Regions from separate parts of the Homo sapiens genome. Here regions 1 and 2 are each linked to region 3. The links are contacts of gene promoters, found by promoter capture Hi-C in blood cells and fetal thymus (Javierre and others, 2016). All regions are on one chromosome and are shown on one strand. Each heading gives the region's core, a stretch centred on a gene start or on the middle of the fragment in contact. The rest is flanking DNA. Distances are from core to core; before and after follow the strand shown. Region 1 overlaps LOC124901754 (a long non-coding RNA gene). Region 2 has its middle 170 kb from the start of MIR4468. Region 3 holds the start of SVOPL (SVOP like).

Region 1 (3,086 bases), core at 437-2,936, 480 kb after region 3:
GTGTATGCATATATATAAAACCATGATTTTTTTTTTAGTTTCTAGTGGAAAACTTTTATTTGGTTCTGTGAATAGTTATTTCATTTCCTATGCCTTTCTAGCAAGTCATCATTTGTTCCATTAATCTGGAATTCCTAGACTACCTTTGTCAGGCCCACAGGAATTGATGGGGTGCACCAGCTTTTAAAACTTAAACTGACTTTTTGGATATTAGGCTCCCTGATACTTTGAATGTATTGAGTATACTTTCATAAATAGAATTTGAGTCATTTTTCTCTCTGTCTGCCTAATTTCTCCAAAATTTGTAAACTATTTGTGAATGTTCTTAACTCATGGCAATTTATTTATTTATTTATTTTTTTGCCTACAGTTGAGTAGGGTTGCTAGGGCTGCCTAGGGAAGGAGAACCCAGAAATCTGACATGCCAGCAAAAGGGTAAGAATTTCTTACCAGTTGGACTTCTGACCTCTCTCTGTGCAAACCAATCGAATGAATGGTAAAAATCACTGTTTATCTCCTTTGTAAAGTTTTGGTTAATGTGAAAAGAAATTCTGAGGCTACTCATAAGCTGTAGCAAATCTGGGTTATTTTGTGCTATGAATTTTTCTTTCTCTGTTGTACTGTCATGAAGAGGTGTACCTTAGGATAGAACATGGGCTTAGGACCCCATAAGCTCACTGCTCGTGACAACCCAGTAGCCTGGTCAGTAACAAACTTTGCTGCAGGTCCCTGAAACAAACAAAACAACTGGATGAGGTCTCCATCTTGTTTTATGTCCCTAGGAGGTCATAGTTAGCTCTAAAAGTTGTCTTAAGTAGTTGGAAGCCTTTGCAAGCTCAAAATGAGCTACTCTAGACTCCTTCTGAAAGGAACAGTGTAGACTGTCCAATGCTGTGGCTCAGCAGCTGGGGTTTTGCCATTTTACAGTGGTGGCCTGTGTTGAGTCCTGGCTTGGGAAATGATTCCTTTCTGGTTTGATATCTGTGTGACCTTTACCATTTGTTGGTTCTTTTCCCCTCTGTGAACCATCTTGAATTTTTCTTCTCTGAGCATCTGGGAGGTTACCTTTGGTAACGTTCAAAAGCCAGAAATATTGGCCACTTCATGTGGCTAAAATTGGGTAATATGAGATTTTAAAGGATTTTTTTTTTTAAAGAATGCTGTGGTTAAGTCAGTTTAATTAAAAGTGGATTCTAACTATAGGTACATTTAAAAGGCCTTTATGTTGTGTTTTTTTTCTCTTCTTGGATCTTGTTTTTCTGGAAGAAGGTTTTTTTCTTCTCAGTCGACTGAATGATTTTTGTGGGAGTCCTAAAATTCTAGTATATTCTGAGTATATTCTATCAATCTTAATTATTACGTTAAGTTACTGTAGACCACAGAAATAACCAAATTTCCTTGTCAATAGTGTTTTTAACTACCATTATTTAAAGTCATTTGAACTCCATGGTCTTAAGTCAAATTACCTATTATAACCCATTAGTTATCAGTACTATGCCCGTAAGTTGGAGAAACAACTGGTATTCAAGAGGTCATAAGTCCAGTGTTAAGCATAGGCTCATGGAGAACTAGGATAGCCACCTTGTCCTTCCTGAGTCCTTAAAGCTTTTGTTATTAAAGGTTATGCATTCTATGACTCATCATGGAAGAGATAAAATGATCCAAATTAAATTTATACTGGAGTGCTGACTTATAAATTGCTAAAGTATTTTATAACCAATATTTGGTTTCTCAAATCCATATTCCTGGGAAGACAATCAAAGCTTCAGGTACGTTTGGCTACCTGATGGGTCACTTAAACATTTCAATTGTCATTTTCAATGCACGTTTTCTGGCTGTATAAAAGCGTTCCCATGCAAGAGGGTTGATGTTGTAACCGTAGATTATTATGCTACAGTGTATTTTCACCAGGTAAAGAAAGCTTTTTATGGTTCACTGAGTGAGGAAAATCAACCCCTTCACAGTCTAGAACCGGAAGATTGGATCTTCTGAGAACATCAGAGAAAGACTGTCCTTGCCATCCACGCTACAGCAAAACTTCGGGACCTTGAACTTGGAGTTCGTAATCTCACAGATGAAAAGGGTCCCTCCACACTCTTGGAACTGTACACCCATTGGAACCCTTAAGGTAAAGCTAACCAGGGAAGTTTCTCCCCAGAAAAAGATGGCATCCTTGATGTGAACAACTTGTCCCAACATCATGGATCAAAACTTCTCCACTATCATGAGACTCTTTGAATATTTTTTCCTTGTTTATGCCTCTATGAACAGTAGAAATGGAAAAGAGGTTTGTTGTGTGTACTTATGCGGCATACTTTTATTTGTGAAGGATTTTGCAGCCAGCCTTACACACGGATAACCTTATACTTTGGTAGATAAAAGATGAAAGCCCGATGTAGGTGAGAAAGTTTTTTGTTTTTTTTTTTTTTTTTGAGATGGAGTCTCGCTTTGTTGCCCAGGCTGGAGTGCAGTGGCACAATCTCGGCTCACTGCAAGCTCCACCTCCCACCTCAGCCTCCCAAGTTGCTGGGACTACAGGCACCGGCCATAACACCCGGCTAATTTTTGTATTTTTAGTAGAGATGGGGTTTCACTGTGTTAGCCAGGATGGTCTCGATCTCCTGACCTTGTGATCCACCCGCCTCGGCCTCCCAAAATGCTGGGATTCCAGGCATGAGCCACCACACCTGGCCTGTAGGTGAGAAACTTCAATGGTACATGTCACCTCATAATCAGTCAGAAATGGAACATTGGTTCATTCCTCTTAATCCACATCATGGGTTAAAGAGAACATTGCCAGGAGGCCTTCACTCTTCTAGAAGGGCATCATTTGTTAGGTCCTTTTTCCATGGTTTGGAGTAAAAACAATGATTAGAAATTTATCCCTCGTGATAGGCTGTACAGCAGATTCTACTGTAAAGGCTATAGTTACACAACAGACTTCAAAGACTTTAAATTCTCTTGTAAAGGTTATGATAGAATTGGCTGAATGGAAGTATCTGTGCAGCTGCTGGCACTGTGACCTATGGAGAAATGCATCAAATGAAGATTATAGAGATTCAGTGGTAGGGGATTAATGAAGGGAT
Region 2 (3,206 bases), core at 436-2,935, 410 kb after region 3:
CTCCATCTCTTTAGGCTTCCCTATTCCCTGAGACACAACAGCATTGAGAAGAGGCCAATTAATAATCCTACAATGGCCTCTTTGTGTTCAAGTAAAAGTAAGAGTCACACATCTCTCATTTTAAATCAAAAGCTAGAAATGATTAAACTTAGTGAGGAAGGGATGTTGAAAGCTGAGACAGGCAGAAAGCTAGGCCTCTTGTGCCAAACACTTAGCCACGTTATGAATGTAGAGGGAAAGTTATTGAAAGGAATTAAAAATTCTACTCCAGTGAACACATAAATGATTAGAAAGCATAGCAGCCTTATTGCTGATGTGGAGAAAGTCTGAGGGGTCTGGATACAAGATCAAACCAGCCACAACATTCCCTTAAGCCAAAGCCTAATCCCGAAGAAGGCCCTACCCCTCTTCAATCCCATGAAGGCTGACAGAGATGAAGAAGCTGCTGGGGAAAAGTTAGAAGCTAGCAAGGTTGGTTTATGAAGCTTAATAAAAGACACCAATCTTCACAAAATAAAAGCGCAAGGCGAAGCAGCAGGTGCTGATGTAGAAGCTGCAGCAAGTTTTCCAGAAGATCTAGCTAAGATATCTGATGAAGGTGGCTACACTAAACAACAGACATTCAAGGTAGAAAGCACAGCCTTCTATTGGAAGAAGATGCCAGCTAGGACTTTCATAGCTAGAGGGGAGAAGTCAATGCCTGGCTTCAAAGCTTCAAAGGAGAGGCTTGCTTTCTTGTTAGGGACTAATATAGCTAGTGACTTTAAGTTGAAGTCAGTGCTCATCGACCGTTCTGAAAATGCTATGGCCCTTAAGATTTATGCTAAATCTACTCTGCCTGTGCTCTATACATGAAATAACAAAGCTTGGACGACTGCACACCTGTTTACCTCATGGTTTACTGACTATTTTAAGTCCACGATTGAAACCTACCACTCAGAAAATAAAAGCTTCCTTTCAAAATCTGACTGCTCATTGACAGTGTACCTAGTCACCCAAGAGCTCTGATGGAGATGTACAAGATTTATGTTTTTATGCCTGCAACACAATATTCATTCTGTAGACCAAGGATCGAGGAGTTATTCTGTTGTTGTTTTGTTTGTTTGTTTTGTTTTTTGGGTTTTTTTTGAGATGGAGACTCACTCTGTTGCGCAGACTGGAGTGCAGTGGCGCGATCTTGACTCACTGCAACCTCCATCTCCCCAGTTCAAGTGATTCGCCTGCCTCAGCCTGCAGAGTAGCTAGGATTAGAGGCATGCGCCACCATGCCAGGGTAATTTTTGTATTTTTAATAGAGACAGGGTTTCACAATGTTGGCTAGGCTGGTCTCAAACTCCTGACCTCAAGTGATCTGCCTGTCTCAGACTCCCCAAGTGGTGGTATTACAGGTGTGAGCCATGTGCCTGGCCTGTTTTGAGGCTTTTAAGTCTTACTATTTAAGAAATAGTTAAGGCTATAGGTGTCATAGATAGTGATTCCTCTGATGGATCTGGGCAAAGTAAATTGAAAACCTTCTGGAAAGAATTCACCATTCTAGATGGCATTAATAACATTTGTGATTCATGAGAGGAGATCAGAATATCAATAGTAACAGGAAGAAGTTGATGCCAACCCTTACAGATGACTCTGGGAGGTTCAAGACTTCTGTGGAGTATGTCAGTGTAGATGAGGTTGGAAATAGTAAAAGAATTAAATTAGAAGTGGAGCCTGAAGATGTGACTGATTTGCTGCAGTCTCGTGATCAGACTTGAAAGGATAAGGAATTGGTTCTTACGGATAAGTAAAAAAAGTAGTGTCTTGAGATGGAACCTACTCTTGGTGAAGATGCTGTGAACGTTGTTGAAATGACATCAAAGGATTTAGAATATTACATCACCCTAGTTGATAAAGCAATGGCAGAATATGAGAGGAATGCCTCCAATTTTGAAGGAAGTTCTACTGTGGATAAAATGTTATCAAATATCACTGCATATTACAGAGAAGATTTTTGTGAAAGGAAGTCAACTGATGCTGCAAACTTCATTGTTGTCTTATTTTAAGGAATTGCCATAGCCACCACAACCTTCAGCAACCACCACCCTGATCAGTCAGCAGCCATCAACATCAAGGCAAGACCCTCCACCAACAAAAAGGTTAAGACAGGCTGAAGGTTTAGATGATAGTTAGCATTCTTTAGTAATAAAGCATTTTTAGGTTGGGCATGGTGGCTCATGTTTGCAATCCCGGTACTTTGGGAGGCTAAGGAGGATGGATTGCTTGAGCTCAGGAATTCAAAGCCAGCCTGGGTAACATGACAAAACCCTATGCCTACAAAAAGTACAAAAATTAGCCAGGTGTGGTAATGTGCACTTGTAATCCCAGCTACTCAGGAGGCTGAGGTGGGAGGATTGCTCAGCTGCAGTGAGCCAAAATCAAGCTTTGAGGCCAGGAGTTATAGACCAGCCCTGGCAACATGGTGAAACCCTATCTCTACAAAAAATACAAAAAATTAGCCGGGCATGGTGATGTCCCTGTAAGATCACGTGAGCCTGAGAGGCAGAGGTTGTAGTGAACCGAGATTGTGCCACTGCACTCCAGCCTCAGCCATAGAGTGAGACCCCATCTCAAAAAAAAAGTAAAATTAAAATATGTACTTTTTTTTTTTTTTAGACATAATGCTATTACACACTTAGGAGACTTCAGTATAGTGTAAACATAACTTTTATATGCACTAGAAAGCTAGGCTGAGGTGAGTGGATTGCTTGAGTCCAGCCTGGGCAACATGGAGAAACCCTGTCTCCACTAAAAACACAAAAATTAGCCGAGTATGGTGGTGCACGCCTGTAATCCCAGCTACTTGGTAGGCCAAGGCATGAGAATCACTTGATCCCAGGAGGCAGAGGTTGCAGTGAGCTGAAATTGCACCACTGCCCTCCAGCCTGGGTGACAGAGCGAGACTCAGAGACTCAGTCTCAAAAAATAAACAGAAAAAATAGAATAGAAAAGGCTTGGAGTTCAGAATGCCCCAGGAGTATGATGTGATCATTAACAATCTATAAAGTTGTTGGAAGTAAATGCTTGGTGTCGCCAAGTGAAAATAGTACTTAGGCAAAAGTTTTCTCAGCAAGGCAATTTACTTCTATAGAAGGGTGTGTCTCATGGATGGAGCAGTGGCAAGAGCACACAGGACAAGTGAGGGGAAGGGGCTCTTATTCCTAACACAGCTA
Region 3 (3,200 bases), core at 167-2,666:
GTGTGCAGTGGCGCGATCTTGGCTCACTGCAACCTCCGCCTCCCAGGTTCAAGCACTTCTCCTGCCTCATTCTCCCGAGTAGCTGGGATTACAGGCATGGACCACCACGCCTGACTAATTTTTGTATTTTTAGTAGAGACGGAGTTTCACCATGTTTGCCAGGCTGGTCTTGAACTCCTGACCTCAAGTGATTCACCCGCCTTGGCCTCCCAAAGTGCTTGGATTACAGGTGTGAGCCACCACTCCCGGCCCATCCTTTACTTCTTCTTCTTCTTCTTTTTTTTTTTTTTTTTTGAGACAGATTCTCACTGTGTTGCCCAGGCTGGAGTGCAATGGTGCAATCTCGGCTCACTGCAACCTCTGCCTCCCAGGTTCAAGTGATTTTCCTGCCTCAGCCTCCCGAGTAGCTGGGATTACAGGCACATGCCACCACGCCTGGCTAATTTTGTATTTTTAGTAGAGATGGGGTTTCGCCATGTTGGCCAGGCTGGTCTTGAGCTCCTGACCTCAAGTGATCTGCCCACCTCGGCCTTCCAAAGTGCTGGAATTACAGGCATGAGCCACTGTGCCTGGCCCTTAAATCATGCTATGGGCCCTCAGCTGGGACTCTTCAACTGCAGGTTCTTGGTCAATTTCCTTCTTGGTTCTGTGGCATACAAACAGGGATTTGCCTCTCCATTTGAAAGCCATGTTCTTGCCTTCTGGAATATCAAATAACTTGATTGCAATTTTCGACACGGCCGACTCATCAGCAGAAGCACTGATGCTGGAAACAAACTGGGAGATGACATTCTTGGCAGCATATGTGACACCCACAGCAGTTGTTGCAGTTACCAAATAGGAGAACCCTTTCCTAGCCTCGCCATCCTCTTTTGAAGACTTTGTCCCATCAAAAATCTCAATGCAACAGTAATCAGGGAAGTCAGGCACATTGATGTCTGTATGGGAATAACGAACAGAAGCAGGGACATTGAGGCCCACAGAGTTGACCCAAGACAGGCTCATGGCCTGGCCACTCAGTGACTCCTGGCATAGCAAAGGCTGCTCTTGTACAGCACAGGCAGCTTCAGGGTGGCAGGCACCATGGCCTATACCAGGGGCTACAGCATGCCTGCCACCCTGCAGGATATGGCTGACAGGATGGGCATGAACCTGCTCCTTAATTCTAAGCAATGGCTGTGAGCAAATGTTTGCAAGGGCAAAGCTTCCCTCTGCCCCTTGCCTAGGTCTTCTCTTTCAGAAATTCTTCCAGCTGTCCTGAGAACAACATAGTAATTTCCTCCAAAGTTCGGCAGCCTCTTTCAGTCTTAACAAGAAATGTAATTTCCCCTTTAAAAGGAGATCAAGTGCAGGCTGCTGAGAAGAGGGTGTGCCCTAGGTGTCATTCACTTGCCCAGAATGCGAAGTTGGCCCTTAAAGAATCCTGATCTGAGACCCGACCTGAAAGGAGAGGATAAGACCAGGGAGCCAGGCGTCTTGGGAACACAAGTCTGGCCACCCCTGAGAAGCCATCTGTGCTCCAATTTCCGTCTAAGACTTGGCCACGGTGAGGGGAGCAAAAGAGCCTGAAATTGGAAGACTGTCCAAGGAATATACAGAGGTGAGAAATTTGTGGGCAACATTGATCTGGACTTATTTTTTCCTGCTGCTGTAGAGGGTGGGGTGGGGCATTGACTGTTAGTTTGTGGCCGAAGGCAAATGGAGCATGAAAATTTCCTTGGATATTGCAAAACAAATTACATCACACATCACACACAAAACTCAGTTTAAAAAAGATCTACTGTGGCCCAATTATTTCTGGTTAAAAAACAATCAGTATAACAAAATACAATAGAATAAAATGTCAATCAGTCCTTTAGAATTTGTTTTAATGAAGCTTGAACTCCATCTGAGTTCAGGGAAAATCCCCAATCTATCAGTTTCTCACCAGGTTTTGTGAAGGTAGGTCATGGATTACTTTCCCATTGTAGCTTTTTAGGAACTTATAGTGAGGGACGCGAAGCATTCTTTTCCATGTTATTCCCTATTTTCCTGAGTTGGTCTAACTGATCATCCATCTGCCATCCATCCATCCATCCATCCATCCATCCATCCATCCTCTTACTGGGTTAGAAAGGATTTAGAATGACACAGGAAACCAGCCGGGTGCGGTGGCTCACGCCTGTAATCCCAGCACTTTGGGAGGCTGAGGTGGGTGGATCACAAGGTCAGGAGTTCAAGACCAGCCTGACCAAGATGGTGAAACCCCGTCTCTACTAAAAATACAAAAAAATTAGCCATGCATGGTGGTGGGTGCCTGTAATCCCAGGTACTCAGGAGGCTGAGGCAGAAGAATCGCTTGAACCCGGGAGGCAGAGGTTGCAGTGAGCCAAGATCACACCACGGCACTCCAGCCTGGGCAACAGAGTAAGACTCTGTCTCAAAAAAAAAAAAAAAAAAAAAGACATACGGAACCAAAGAACAGAGTATGTCAATTCAGCCTTTCCAGCATTCCATTGCTGAGTTAAGATTGCAAGCTCTATCTCTCAATAATGTTCCTCATCTCCATCTCTCAAACATGTTGTTCTCTTCTTTCTTCATGTAGCTTTTGGCTGAAACTCTAGAGACTACCAAGAAAATACATTTCATATATATGCTAACTAACTTTGAGTTTGTGTTTGAGTGTCCTTTTAATGACTTGGAGAGTAAGCCCCTTTCCAAGGTACAGATGTGAACGCTACAATCCTGATAATCTCCTGCCAACAGCCCTGTGCCCTGCAACTTGCTCCACCAAAGGAATCCTGTTGTTGAAAACTCTGTATCCTAATAGGGTGGGAATGAGGACTTTCTCTGTTGCAGGTAAACCTGTACGTTTGTTTCTTCCCCCTCTTGGCAAATTCCCCTGACACCGGGGACCCACCCGGCCCTGATTATCTTCAAGGGCTATGCATTGGGAAGACCAGTGTTACAAGTGACGGGCACTGAACGCTGTTCCGGTGGCGGGGCGAGGGCTGACTTGCTCCTCGGAGCCACACCTCACCACCAGCCCTTTTTTTCCACCCTCACCCCACCCCCTGCACCAACTATGCCTTTGGAAGAACTGAAGTTTGAAAGCTTCTTCTTCCTCTAAAATATATTGATTTTGCAATGTAGAACACAGGAGAATTTTGGTGAAAAGTATCCATTTTGTCGTGCCTCTCATAAGTAAGATGAAGTGACTA

Evidence for each region. Contacts are between HindIII fragments. The CHiCAGO score rates a contact against its expected background, and 5 or more counts as called.
Region 1: a fragment that was not itself captured here is called in contact with the fragment with the promoter of SVOPL in region 3 in 1 of 17 cell types (endothelial precursors); the score reaches 5.1 in endothelial precursors.
Region 2: a contact is called between a fragment that was not itself captured here and the fragment with the promoter of SVOPL in region 3, in 1 of 17 cell types (endothelial precursors). The highest score is 6.0, in endothelial precursors.

The regions. Positions count from the first base shown.
Region 1 is chr7:138,215,606-138,218,691 of GRCh38, reverse strand. LOC124901754 (a long non-coding RNA gene) reads left to right here. Exons shown (of 2, transcript XR_007060555.1): 1 at 1-2,128; 2 at 2,970-3,086. Among named protein-coding and RNA genes, the nearest start is that of MIR4468, 93 kb to the right of the region's middle. The HindIII fragment of the contact is 158 bases long and covers 1,608-1,765 here.
Region 2 is chr7:138,289,991-138,293,196 of GRCh38, reverse strand. No RefSeq gene overlaps it. Among named protein-coding and RNA genes, the nearest start is that of MIR4468, 170 kb to the right of the region's middle. The HindIII fragment of the contact is 1,466 bases long and covers 953-2,418 here.
Region 3 is chr7:138,699,578-138,702,777 of GRCh38, reverse strand. SVOPL (SVOP like) reads left to right here and starts at 1,416. Exons shown (of 16, transcript NM_001139456.2): 1 at 1,416-1,600. It also overlaps the pseudogene UQCRFS1P2. The HindIII fragment of the contact is 672 bases long and covers 1,207-1,878 here.